3 separate regions of the Homo sapiens genome follow, and all the other regions are linked to region 1. The links are contacts of gene promoters, found by promoter capture Hi-C in blood cells and fetal thymus (Javierre and others, 2016). All regions are on one chromosome and are shown on one strand. The core of a region is centred on a gene start or on the middle of the fragment in contact, and the rest is flanking DNA. Distances in the headings are between cores, read along the strand shown. Region 1 holds the start of SLC18A2 (solute carrier family 18 member A2). Region 2 overlaps FAM204A (family with sequence similarity 204 member A). Region 3 has its middle 14 kb from the start of LINC02944.

Region 1 (4,314 bases), core at 690-3,189:
GGAAAAAGCAAAACTGAAACAGGCCAGGCACGGTGGCTCAGGCCTGTAATCCCAGCATTTTGGGAGGTCGAGGCGGGTAGATCACCTGAGGTCAGGAGTTCAAGACCAGCCTGGCCAACATGGCAAAATCCTGTCTCTAATAAAAATACAAAAATTAGCCAGCTTTGGTGGGGCATGCCGGTAACCCAGCTACTCGGGAGGCTAATGCAGGAGAATCACTTGAACCCGGGAGGTGGAGGTTGCAGTGAGCCAAGACTGTGCCACTGCCCTCCAGCCTGGGCAACAGAGTGAGACTCCATTTCAAAAAAACAAACAAAAACCAAAATAAAAAGCAACAACAAAAAATACAAATTAAATTGTGAAACATATAATCGAAGCTGTGAGCACATGTGTCCAATGGAGCATTCGAGCCGAAGCAGAACTAATGCCGTTGGTACTGAACAGGGATGAGCTCCACGGCTCTGATAACTCCTCGAGATGAAACCTATCAGATGCTCTGAAAACTGCTGTGAGAAAACCTGCAAATGGAGAGAAAGGAAACAGCTCCCACCACTTACAGTCTAAATGAGTCGTGATTTTTTTTTCATTCATTAAAAACTGGGATTTTTTTTTTTAAGGAAATGCATGCCAAATACTTCTCTGTTAATGGGCCTAATTAAGGGACCTGGATTTCGATTATTTAATTTTTCAAAATTCCACTATAGGAAAAATAATAGAACCAAGATTGTTCAAATTGTTCTTGCAATGGTTCCTGAAATATTTCCATCTCAAGTCATTCACTAATACAGTATATCTAAATGTCTTGTTTTTGGAGTAAGGGATCGAAACTTGCTCTTTTAGGTACTACACCAAATTACTAACCTGCCTTTTCGAGTAGCCCAATAATTATTCTAACACGTAATTTTGAACTTTAGGAATTTCTCTTTTGGAACAGAAATCTTTTTCATCGCAGTGAAAGCAGGCAAGAGGATGCGGGAAATTATCAGGGGGAAACATAAGTTCTGGGTCTTATCGGATGTCACAGTTTTTGACCCGAGCATCAGGAAAGCGAAGCCACACAACGCGGCTCCTCCTAGCCCCGGCGCGGCAGCCTGGAGGGGATGTCTTTTTTGCAAAGCGAGTTCTCCAACTTTCCCGGGCCTTGGCGGAGCTCCGGGACCGCGCAGGGGTAAGTGGAGTGCCGGGGAAGGGGCGCTGGGGCTGGGGTGCCGGGGCAGGGGTGCCCTGTCCGCACGTACCCACGACAGTGAGCAGCATGTTGTCCAGCAGCAGCGCCAGGAACACGATGAACAGGATGAGCTTCCGCGAGCGGCGGCTCTCCTGCAGCCAGCGGACCAGCGCCAGCTCGCTCAGGGCCATGGCTCCGGGGCTCCGCTGCGGGCGCGGTGCGCGGTGAGGACCCAAGGCGGCCGTGGACCCCCCATTCTCCCGTCCCCCAGGCCGCGGAAGGGCGGGTCAGGGAGCCGCGCGCACCGGCATCCGGGGACACCCCCGGGCGCCCCAGCCTCGGCTCACCTGCCTCGAGCGCGTCCCCACGAGAGCCCGCGCTCCCTGGAAAGAGCGCCCGCGAGCGCCGTCGGGGACCCAATCTGGAGACCCAACCTAGAACCCCCAGGACGCTGCCCTGATCCCCGCCGCCCCCAACTGTGCCACCTCCCAAACTGCACGCTCGGCCCCGTGCACCTTGCGCCCTGCGCCCTGCGCCCCGGCTGCCCCGGGGTCCCCGCAGCCCCGCCCGCGTAGCTCTGGGGGCCTCCCTGCCTCCCTGCCTCCCCCGGGCCCGCTCCCCTCCGGCACCGCGCCCTGCGAGCAGGGAACCGGGGCCGTGTTACCTCGGGGTCGCTTGCGATGCCTGCCCGGGTCCTCCGTGCCCGCGCCAACGCCCGCACCGCAGTGGGCTCCGTCAGTCCGGGCGGCTCCGGGTCGCAGTCTCCGCCCCAGCGCCCCGCCGCCGCCGCTCAGTTTACCCCGTCCGGCTCTGACGTCACGGCCGGAGGGAGCGGGGGCGGGGGGCTGGGGCGCCCCGGCCTCCGCCCGCCCGCGCCGTCGCTGCGCAGGAGGGGCTGCCGCCTCCCTGTCCCCGCCTCGGCCGCGGCCGCGCCTCTTCCCCGGACCCAGCGCGTGGCCGAGTGCCTTGGGGACCCAGGCCTGGGGAAGAGGCAGGGGCGCAGAGGGAAAGAGGTCAGAGAGCCTGGACGAAGAGTGAAGGGCCAGGGACCAAGGCGAGGAGGCACGGACCAGGGCTTTCTTGTGGCTCCAAGTGGTGGCTCGAGCTGCTTTGAATAAATCACGTGGCTCTTTGAGCCTCAGTGTCCCTGAAATGGGCCGTGAGGACGGGAATGATGGCCGCGGGGTGAGATCGCCAGGGGTGACAGGTGCTGGGAGCCAGGGACAGGCTTCCCTTTCCTGAAGAAGCCACCCTTTGCACCCACCATCCCCTCCCCTCTCCGACCTCTGCAGCCCGATGCGGGGTGCCACTCGGAGGAGCCTTTGAGCCTTGGGCATCCTCAAGCTGGTGACTTGGAAACGGGGGGGGGAAGGGGACACTTTTCAGTGTCGCCCTATGGTGGGAGTTGGGGAGGTGAGGGTCCCAGGTCTCAGAAAGTGGGAGCAGTGGGTTTGGGCCTCTGGGGCCACCTGAGCAGGGGACCCTGGAGGCTAGGTGAGTACACCTGGCCTCAGAGAAAGGGCTAGGGGGCGGGCTGTGGGCGGGGCAGCAGGCCTAGGCCCTGTGTCCTGTACTCTCTCCCCACCATGCTGTGCCTGGGCGTCTGGGTGAGAGGTGGTTCCTAGAGCCAGGGGCCTGCGTGTGGCTGGTGCAGAGCTGTCATCCTCACTGCTAAGGGCTAAGAGCCTGCCTTTGATTTCCAGGTCCCTTTTATAAGCAAAGGAGAAACAAACAGATGCCCTCTGACATCGCTGGAGCTCTGCAGGCCCTCCGAGGGGACCGTGGGAGCAAGAGCTGTTTTCTTGAAAAGCTACCTAGAATAAATGTTACCCTGTCACAGTCTCTTAGCAGAAGAGTGGGCTTGTTTTATTAATGTTAGCTTGTTGACAGCAGGAGGCCACTGAGAACAGCAGTGTGATGTGTGGCTGCCCCCGCTCTCTCCACCTCCCTACTCCCTTGCAGAGACCCCCTGTGCTTCTCATTGCTACCCCATGTGTGAGAAGAGATGGTTGAATAGGTAAGTAGGTCAGGAACATGGGTCTCCAGGATGTCACAGGATGTGCACAACTTAAACATTAAACAGGGAGGACAGAAGGAAAACCACTTAGGAGGAGGAAGCAGATGGCAGAGAGCCGTTTAAGATGGCAGGAGGGTATCACTCAGGGAGTGCCCCAGAGTGCTTGCTCTGGAGTTTCAGAACCCAAGGATGCAGACTCTACCCCAGGGACCACATGGGGACAGAGAGGCATTATGGTAAAGGGTGCCTGCCAGGATGCCCAGGTCCCAGTCTGCTACTTCCTTGACTGGTGGCCTTGGGCTGGTTATGTATCCTCTTTGTGGCTTAGTTTCGCCATCTCTGGAATGGGGATACTCACTGGACCTACTGCAGCGTGGTTGTGAGAATTCCAGGGGAATGCATAGGCAGCTCTTAGCACAGTGCCTGGCACAAAGTGAGAGCTCCGTAAGTGCCGGCCCCTCATTCATGCGCTGAATATGTGTTGAGCTCTTACTACGTGCCAGGCACTATGGTTAATGCTGGGGAGACAGTAAAGCCTAGACAAATCCCTGCTGACATTCTGACCTGATAGCAGCATCATAGCAGTGAACACTGGAAGCCACACCAAACTCCAGCCCAGCCAGCTGGATGTAGATGGCTCCAGGGACAATGCCAGCCCGGCGTTCCCGCCTCCGGATCACTGTCACCACCCCTAGAGCACTATGGCCTATAACAGACTTTTTGTTGAAACCCCCTAAAAAATGTTTAACAATATGTTTGCCTTACACATTTTCAAGTTGGCATCTAAAATGAGTTTTTTAATCATATATTTAAATAGGGTATATTGTATTTATTGACCTTTATGTATAAAATTATTATCTCTCTCTTTTAAATATACCCAAAGGAATTTGTATAAGAATACAAAACTGCCATGTTATACTTAAGAATATAAACAAGTATCCCTTTAACAGTCAAAATATTTACATTGTGTTCTTTACCCCTTTTAAGTATGTTTCCATTCCGTTTTCCAACAGAATTGTATCCTACCCTAATGCTTTTATTGTTTAAATTCTGTATTCATCACCTATCTATTATGTGAACCACAATAAATATGTGAATATGCATTAGCTTTTTAAAATTTTCTACACGT
Region 2 (4,314 bases), core at 503-3,002, 1.1 Mb before region 1:
GAGGTATAGGAGAGGGAGGTTTAGGGGTGTGGTGAGAGAGGTATGGGGAGTGTTGTAGTGGTACCATGAAGATCCCCTGGTATCAGTTGTAAACCATTGCCTCTTGGTTCCTGTGTGATTTCCGTGGGGTAGGTTGATAGGTCCAGTGTTATTCTCAGAATACAGATAAAGAAACTGAAGCTCAGCATAATTTGCCTAAGAAAACAAACCAGGTGAGAAGTGAAATGAGACTTTAAACCCAAGTCATTTGGTCCCAAATCTAGATTTTTTCTGAACCTGGTTTTTATTTACCTGACTCATATGATTTTTTTTTTTTTTTTCTGAAACAGAGTCTTGCTCTGTTGCCCAGGCTGGAATGCAGTGGTGCAATCTCAGCTCACTGCATCCTCCACTTCCCAGGTGCAAACCATTCTTCTACCTCAGCTTCCTGTAGCTGGGACTAGAGGTGTGCGCCATCATGCCCAGCTAATTTTTGTATTTTTAGTAGAGATGGGGATTCACCATATTGGCCAGGCTGGTCTCAAACTCCTGACCTTGTGATCCGCCTGCCTTGGCCTCCCAAAGTGCTGGAATTATAGGCATGAGCCATCACACCCAGCCGACTCAATTGATTTTAAGTGGGTATGATTATATATATATATATATATATAAAGGTAACAAAATTATGAATAAATATATGATTTACATTTATGTATGAAAGTACCTCTTCCGCCCCTCCACTGCCTTTCTTTATGAAGAGATTGCCTCATTTTTTCCTAGATATTTAGGTTCAGTAATGCAAACTTCAATGGATAATTCATTTGTGTTAAGCTTTAAAAATTGAATATATTAACAGAATAAATATTTAATAGCAGAATTTTCATATAAATATATTGTGGTATAGTTTGACTTTAAAAGCTTTAACCACATATAAAAGATATTCTACATATGCACATATAGATGTTAGCCCACAATGTTAAACCAAGTACCCATACATTTCTTAGATATTTGTAGTCCTGTCTTCTTGACATCTATATTAAAACTTAATTAATTGGCAATTGTTGCCTCGTGGGTTAGATACTTCGTTTAGATAAATTTTTCACCTGTGGCCAAATTGCCATTCCTAGGTTTGTCTGTGTTGAGATATATCATAAATTATGTTTTGATTCTAGCCAAAAGGCAACTTAGAAGCACACCAAGGTGCTGCAGGCTATCAGTAGCTCCTCTGTGCCTCCTGCCACTCCTATAGTATGGAAGACATTCTAGATAAGTCAAATAAAGGCTACTCTTGAGTCCAGCTTAAAACTTTTCAAAAAGCCTTAATACTCAGACTCTATTTCATGAGATTGCTTACTGACAAAGTGGAATGCTTGGGTCTTGTACTTGGGTCTGAGCTTGAAGAAGTATAATGCAGTCTGTAGCCTTATAGAGATAAGCCTTCTCTTTTGCAATAATGGTATCCTGATATTTAGGTTTAATAATAGGAGCACCTTATTATTTATTGAATGACTACTATATTCTAAAAACGTGGCTAGGTATTCTATATATATGTTCTTTGACTCATCATAATCTTGCAGAGAATGTGGTTTTATTCTCATTTTATTGCATGTGTAAGATAACTGCAACCCACAGAGGTTTAGAAACTCACTCAGGGTTGCTTAGTTCATAAGTGGAGGAGCTAGTCTGAACCTAGGTCTGATCCTGCCAGCTGTGCTCTTTGTGAGCTGCTGTGAACTTACAGTCTTTAAGGAGATGGGAATGTTTTACTAAGTGTTTTGAGTGTATTTGGAATATTAATAAGTTCTTATGGAAACAAAGTTTGGGTGTACATGGAACCAGGAGTTTTTCAGAGCTAAAAGAAGGTAGTACATTTTATTTAAATAAATTGTCAGAAAGAGAAAAGGGCTAAAAACAAAGCTGAAAATGTGATAGAAACCTAGAATTTTTATTTCTAGGAGGGTTACTCATTCAAGCCAGTCTTCTTATTATCTTTGAGGAAACAGAGGCTTATGAGTCAAGTATGTCATTTACCCAGAGCTTTGACCACATCTCCTGTCTTCTAGTCCTGTGCTCTTTCCACTGTAATATGCTATTACCTTTAGATTATGATCTTAATGGCTGGGGGAATGGACAGGCAAAAGAATGGAAGCTGTTAGTGAGCAGGTTGTTGAGATGAATGGTTGGAGCAGGTCTAGTTTGATTGCTTCCCTGCGTGAGATTGGATAAGTTCTGAGTTGAGGTATCAGGCTATGCAAGAATTTGTAGTGCAAGGAAACTTGTAGTTTGATATTAATGTTTTATACAAATAGATTTTGACACATACAAATATGTGTCAGTGACATTTGAGGCGATGGTTAATATTCTGCACAGGAAAATGAGGCTGTTGTATTTACATTTTTTAAAGAAAATAACTATTTTCAGTAAAAATTAAATAAAGTTCTAGGTGCAGGTACTATTTTAAGCTCTGGGAGCCCAAGATGGAGAAGATACTCTCCATGCCCTTGAGGAATGTATATATTCTAGTACCAGGATAGATGTATATATAAATGAGTACAATACGTGTACCTTTTTTTAACCATAGGGGCATTATTACTTCAATATTACAGTTGTGAATTCTCTGGAAGCTTCTCAGAGTAGTTGGTATGTAATAAATGTTCCCAGTTTGAGTGGGGTCCTTTCACTATGAATGCAAACATGGATGACGGCAGTGTGAATATCAGCTCAGTAGCACAGACTGAACAAATGTCTTCTATGTAGAAGGAACTGGGCTGGATTCTGGGACACACCAAGCCGGTGACACACAGCCTGCTCTCACTGAGTATAGGACTCAAGAGGGGAGAATACACAACTCACTGTAGTGTGTCAGACAAGTTAGGTGCTGAAGGGACACAAGGTACAGCAACAGCACAGAGTGGAGAGCCTGGTGTGGGGTTTGGGGAGGGTGATGGGGTCATAGGAATGTAGGGCTGAGGAGCTCTGCGTAGATAGAGAAGGTAACATTCGACGTGAGCCTAAAGGGATGATTAATATTTTTCAAAGAGAAGCACATCAGAGGCACAGGGAACATTAGGAAAATGGTAAATGTGACCAGAGATTAAAAAGCATAGCTTTTTAATTGCTGAAGATGGGGTTGAGAAAGCATCTGGGGACCCCATTGTGAAGGGAGTGGGATGTTATTCAGAGGGAATATGAAGTAATGCTTTAAGCTGGGTAATGACATGATGCCTGTTTCAGAAAGAGAAGACTAGTTTGGAGATGGTTATAATATTCCAAATAAGGGATCACGTGTCCCTGAAGAAGCACAGAAGGAAGAAATGAGAGACTTTTGCCAAAATAGAGTTCAGATAGGAGCAAGGGGTTGGAAGCATTGAAGATAACTGAGGATTCTATCAAGGGTGACTGAGGAGGAGGAGAAGCAGGGCAGCAAGTGTTGGGCTTGTTACAGACATCATGAAATTGAAGACCTTGCCTTTGTAGGCCTTCAGTGTGAAGATGATTAGCAAGTAGCTGGAGATGTAGGTATTGGTACAGGGGAGAAGTCAGGTGTTTCTAATTATTTAGAGAGCTAAACCAGCTCATAGAAAGTAATTGAAGCTCCAGGACAGAGTAGATTACTGGGGAGGGTAAAAAGTAAGACGAAAAATATGCTAGTCAGAAACTTGAGGAACACTGTGATTAAGGGACAACCAGAGGAGATAGTGGGTAGTTTTAAGAATGAGGACATGGCCAGGTGTGGTGGCTCATGCCTGTAATCCCAGCACTTTGGGAGGCCGAGGCAGGCAGATCACGAGGTCAGGAGATTGAGACCATCCTGGCCAGCATGGTGAAACCATGTCTATACTAAAATACAAAAAATTAGCTGGGCATGGTGGCACACGCCTGTAGTCCCAGCTACTTGGGAGGCTGAGGCAGGGGAATCGCTTGAACCCAGGAGGTGGAGGTTGCAGTGAGCTGAGATTGCGCCACTGCACTCCAGCCTGGCGACAGAGTAAGACCGTGTCACCAAAAAAAAAAAAAAAACAGTTGACATATATTTCAGCATGCATCAGAATCATATGGATTGCTGGGCCGCCAGCCTAGAGTTTTTCCACAGAATTTGCATTTCCAGCAAGTTTCCAGGTAATGTTGATACTGCTAGTCCAGCACTTAAACTTTGAGAACCACTGGCTTAGAGTTTAGTTGATAATGGTAATTGTGGGTTGCAAGTTAGAGAGGGAGAAGGAGTATCTAAGAAGGGACTGAAGGACCGTGCCAGGGAATGAGGTTCCAGTAAAGGCAAAGCAGATGAATTAGGTAGAAAGACTTGGGGTGAGTGGAAGAATTGTATCAGGGAGT
Region 3 (4,314 bases), core at 1,148-3,647, 1.0 Mb before region 1:
ATTCCTTACTGACCTGTAATTTTAAATTTCAAGTTGATTAAAAGCAGTTACTGAATAGCTGTGAACTTGGTGATATTAGCAAACTTTAGCCAGGATGAATATCCCAGAACTGCCCTGACCTCTAAATCAGTTTCTACACAAAGAAACCCAGACAGATATCAGAAAGAACACGTTGTCTTTTGCGCTCAGACATCGGTTCCAGAATCGCAGGGAAGGTTTCCTCCGCTTTTGCCCTTTTAGCTCACTTGCATACCATGAACACATTGCTTGCTGGTCTTACCTAGTAAAGGTCTATGTGCTATGAACGCATAACTAAAATAACCTCAGGAAAAAGAAGAGTGATAACTACAAAAACAAAACATAATGTTCCTCCACCTCCTTTCCGAGGGCATTTGAAGGCCCAAGGCATTAGTCCTCTTGGTCCTTTTTGAGGGCTCATGTTTGGGAGTTTCAAAAGGCAGTGATCTAATTGTTAAATTTTGGAACAAGTTCTCCCAGTTTCATCCTTCTTGGACGTTCATCTCTGAGGATTTTAATGAGCCAGAGCAAGACAGAAGTGCAAACATGAAATGCGTCTCCAGGCTAAGTTGACCAGGATTAGACACTGCCATGGCCAGCCTCCTCCCTCTGGAAGGCACATCACATTATTATTATTTTAAAAATCAAACTTCTTTTTAGCTGAAGTAAGTTTCCTTTCTGCTCCTACAAATATCATGGCTGGTTTAAGGTTTGATGTCTGCTTAATGCCCAATTATGCTATACAAGACAGATCACACTACATTAGCCAGGATTATGTTGCCTCTTGATCTTATCAGCTTTGTTTCCTAAACTACAAAAAGATCTAACACAGTACTGGTTAGCAGTTTGGCTTAGACAATCTCTATCGTCATCCATCACTGTCACCAGTTAGCAGGAGGCATTAGGCACAAAGCTAAGAGACAGGATGCAGAGCTGACACTCTCTTCCCAGGCTAACACTCTAATTCCACATTTACGCCAGCTCTTCCTAGGCTCGCCCTTCCTTACTATGGAAGCTTTCTTTCCCTTGCTTATTTTTGGAAAAGGAAATCTATTCCCGTAAGTTGTTTGCTTGCTTGGTCTTAAATTCTTTGTAAGTATAGACAGGAGAGGGAGTAAACGCATAAGGAAAATTAAAATATATATTCCTCAGCTAAAATGAGGGTTGTAAAGTCAGAGATCTGAGGGAGAAGATGGAGACTAATGGATTGAATCTGACCGTTCCTACCTCTCAGGGCTGACTTGGGAAACTCCATGAACACAATGGGAATTCTCAGCGGCAAGGTACAGCTGGTCTAGCAACTTGTATTTAGCATTTTCTTTTCCATCATATGTGGGATGACTCCAAATGTGTCCATGTCTGCCTTAAACTCTGGTTGTTTTAAGTCATGCGGGATTACTCCCAATTTGTCCACATCTGCCTTAAACTCTGGTTGTTTTAAGTAGCACCAGGAGCAAGCCAGGACATCTGGGTTCTAACCCATTCTAAGTCAGAGCAGATACCATCTATACTGGGCACTTGTTTTAGTTCAGCAGCCTTCACGGGAAGCCTCACACAGAGACACGAAAGAGCGTGAGATTTCAAAACAGACTCCATTACCCCATTTGTGGTCAAAATCTGATAGAATCAAGAAATAGGAATCCCAGTAGGGATATCTATGTGTCAAGTGGTAAACTTGATAATCGTAAGAATACATTTAATGCAGCAGGAGAGAATACCAACCAGAAGATTAACATTTCTGTTATATAATTACAAGTTCAAGGAGTTCAGCCTCTTATCACTTTATAGTGAGCATAGGAAGTAGGAGTGATCCTCTTTAATTTGTAATTATTTAACTGCAATGTGAGGTCCAGCGGCCTTATTCTTACCCTTCTGGGCTGCAAGACATTGGTATGCAGAATCCATGCGAGAAGGCGCAGAACACTATCAGAAGAAGACATGTTTGATTATTCTTTAAAACCAACTAAGAGAAGTTAATCTCATTGAACTTCTTTTTATTCAACAAAAGAGTTGGATGTTTCCAAGTCTAATGTGACTATAATGTTCATTAAATGGACTTCTTTACACCTTTAAATGGATTAACTGCACATCTTTACAGTCTAATTATTATACACGTCATTCAAAAAAATCACAGATCTAATTCAGGGGATGATAAAGGCCTTTCTTTTGCGACTATGGAAGAGACATTGCAGTAAATGGATGTGATTTTTATCAGTGCCATATTTAAAAAAGGGCACATGTTGCTCCAAGGAGGTGGGAGGGAAGGACGGGACTGGATGTGCTGAATTTTTCTGCCCTGGTAATTTTATTTCAGAGATTTAGGATCTGACCATGCTGGTGCTTGCTCCTTCCGGGCTCGCTGTGCCAGGCACCTTAGAGGTTCCTCCCGCCTAAGCCTGCCCGGCTAATGACTTCAATCTGTCCAAGACAGCTCTTAGTCAGATAAGCGATAAATTATGGACAGCCCCCCTTCAGTCCCAGGCCTTTGGGGATCCTCTGAGTTCTTTTACCCAGACCTTTCTTGAAAACGAAAGACACTCTCTCACCACGCTTCAAGAACATACCAAATCAGTTTGTTTTTTTTTTTACAAATACATTTGCCATTATCTCTCTTTGGGCCTATACTTCTCTCTCTGTCTCTTTCTTTCTTTGCTGGGGGAGCATTACATTTGGCATGCGATGGCAGTTCGCTGTGTCCTGAGGATGTCAGAAGCCTTGCTTGGCTCAGGCATGTACAGATGCCCTAGAAGCTATTGAGAGATGCAAGGACATTTCTGTCTTTGGAGAAAGGAGCTCTTGAGGGGAGGACCCTGGAAGGCCCCCAAGTAATAATTCAGGCTTTTTCTGTTGGAAACTGAAGAAGGCACAGATTTGTCTTCATTCATTTCACTGATATTTGTTGAGAAGTTATTACAGGTCACATAGCATGTGTAGTCAACCAGATGCAGCCCAAAGTTGAGCAGACACAATTCCTACACTCAGGGAGCATTTGGTCTGAGAGACATTAACATAAAACTTTGTAAATTGAAGGAGGCTCCCAGTTTTCCATTAAGGAGGGGCTGAGAGTTGGCAGTCTAGTTAGAAGGCGTGTTTAGAGCTTGGAGTTTGTGCTTGCTCGGCAAACTTAAGCTATTTTTCCTGATGTTGAACCTACATGGGGTTGCTTTGGAGTGGTGAATGGGGACTTGAGGGAGGAAATGAAACACCCAGCCCGTCTCTGGACACTCCCTCGGAGCCAGTCAACAGTCCCCACAATCCCAGTCCTGGCTCCCCCAAGCGAGAGGCTAGACCACAGGCAGAAACATGAGGCGCCTCTGTCTTTGGAGTGTCCTCATGGCACCATGGAAGGCGTGCACATGGTGCCAGGCATGCACATGGAGCCAGGCAATGCTGTGTGGAAATGCCAGCACTGCCATTTCCTAGAAATGTGACCAACAACAAGTTACTCAACCTCTTTAGCCTCAGTTTCTTCATCTATAGATGGGGATAATTACATCCATCTTTCAATGTTCTTATGGGGACTTAGAAACAACAAATATATAAAGGGACTAGCACGATGCCTAATGCCTAATAAATAGTAAGTGCTTAATCCATTCTAGGCCCCTTGTCCTTCCCTATCAGTTTCCCTTTCACTGCCTGTCTCCCCTCCCCTCCCCAGTGTGCCATTCTTAATCCTCAGTCGTGTCCAATTAACTGGGACTAAGGTTTTACCTCATAAACAAAGTGTAACAGCTCAAAGCTTACCTGTACTAGTGGTCTTTGCCTTTTGGAAGGCAAATCCTAAAGCACTGAAAATCCTAAGGAGTAGTGCAGTGATGGCCAGTGGAGTCGGTATTTGGCACATGCGGACATCCCCTTGGCATGGGAAGCCACAGAACCACATGACCGTAGACTCTCTCAGCCAGAAGCCCCCTTTCAGGCTCCAGGGTCTCACTCTCAGCCTGGTGCCTGAAACTCCATCTCCAGCCTGCCTAGCATCTGTACTTCCAGTTCTGGATGATGCACAAGGCCTGGGTGGCAGTGGGCTAGCATGTGCTGTCCCTGTCTTCACCCGCCTTCTGGTCTCCTTCATTCCTTGAATTCCCCAGTGCATGGCAGCAACGGGCGAGGTTACTTTCAGAGACGCCTGTCTTGAGGCAGAAAACTCTTTCATAAATAATTTAAGGTCCATGTTGTACTAACATCAATTATCAGAATTAATTGCTCCTTAAAATGTAAAGAATTGTGCTACAAAGAGTCAACATTAGCTCGGGAACTGTAAGTCTCTTTCTCAAGTCTTCTGAAGGCTCACGAGGC

What was found. Contacts are between HindIII fragments. The CHiCAGO score rates a contact against its expected background, and 5 or more counts as called.
Region 2: a contact is called between a fragment that was not itself captured here and the fragment with the promoter of SLC18A2 in region 1, in 1 of 17 cell types (megakaryocytes). The highest score is 6.4, in megakaryocytes.
Region 3: a fragment that was not itself captured here is called in contact with the fragment with the promoter of SLC18A2 in region 1 in 2 of 17 cell types (total B cells and naive B cells); the score reaches 7.9 in total B cells.

Annotation. Positions count from the first base shown.
Region 1 is chr10:117,238,739-117,243,052 of GRCh38, reverse strand. It overlaps SLC18A2 (solute carrier family 18 member A2), which reads right to left and starts at 1,939. Exons shown (of 16, transcript NM_003054.6): 1 at 1,833-1,939; 2 at 1,239-1,374. The coding sequence starts at 1,359. SLC18A2-AS1 (SLC18A2 antisense RNA 1) reads left to right here and starts at 1,056. Exons shown (of 3, transcript NR_184310.1): 1 at 1,056-1,168; 2 at 1,270-1,392; 3 at 2,872-4,288. The HindIII fragment of the contact is 8,499 bases long and covers 1-4,314 here.
Region 2 is chr10:118,328,180-118,332,493 of GRCh38, reverse strand. All of the region lies in intron 6 of FAM204A (family with sequence similarity 204 member A), which reads left to right. Among named protein-coding and RNA genes, the nearest start is that of FAM204A, 12 kb to the left of the region's middle. The HindIII fragment of the contact is 1,706 bases long and covers 900-2,605 here.
Region 3 is chr10:118,253,602-118,257,915 of GRCh38, reverse strand. No RefSeq gene overlaps it. Among named protein-coding and RNA genes, the nearest start is that of LINC02944, 14 kb to the right of the region's middle. The HindIII fragment of the contact is 2,724 bases long and covers 1,036-3,759 here.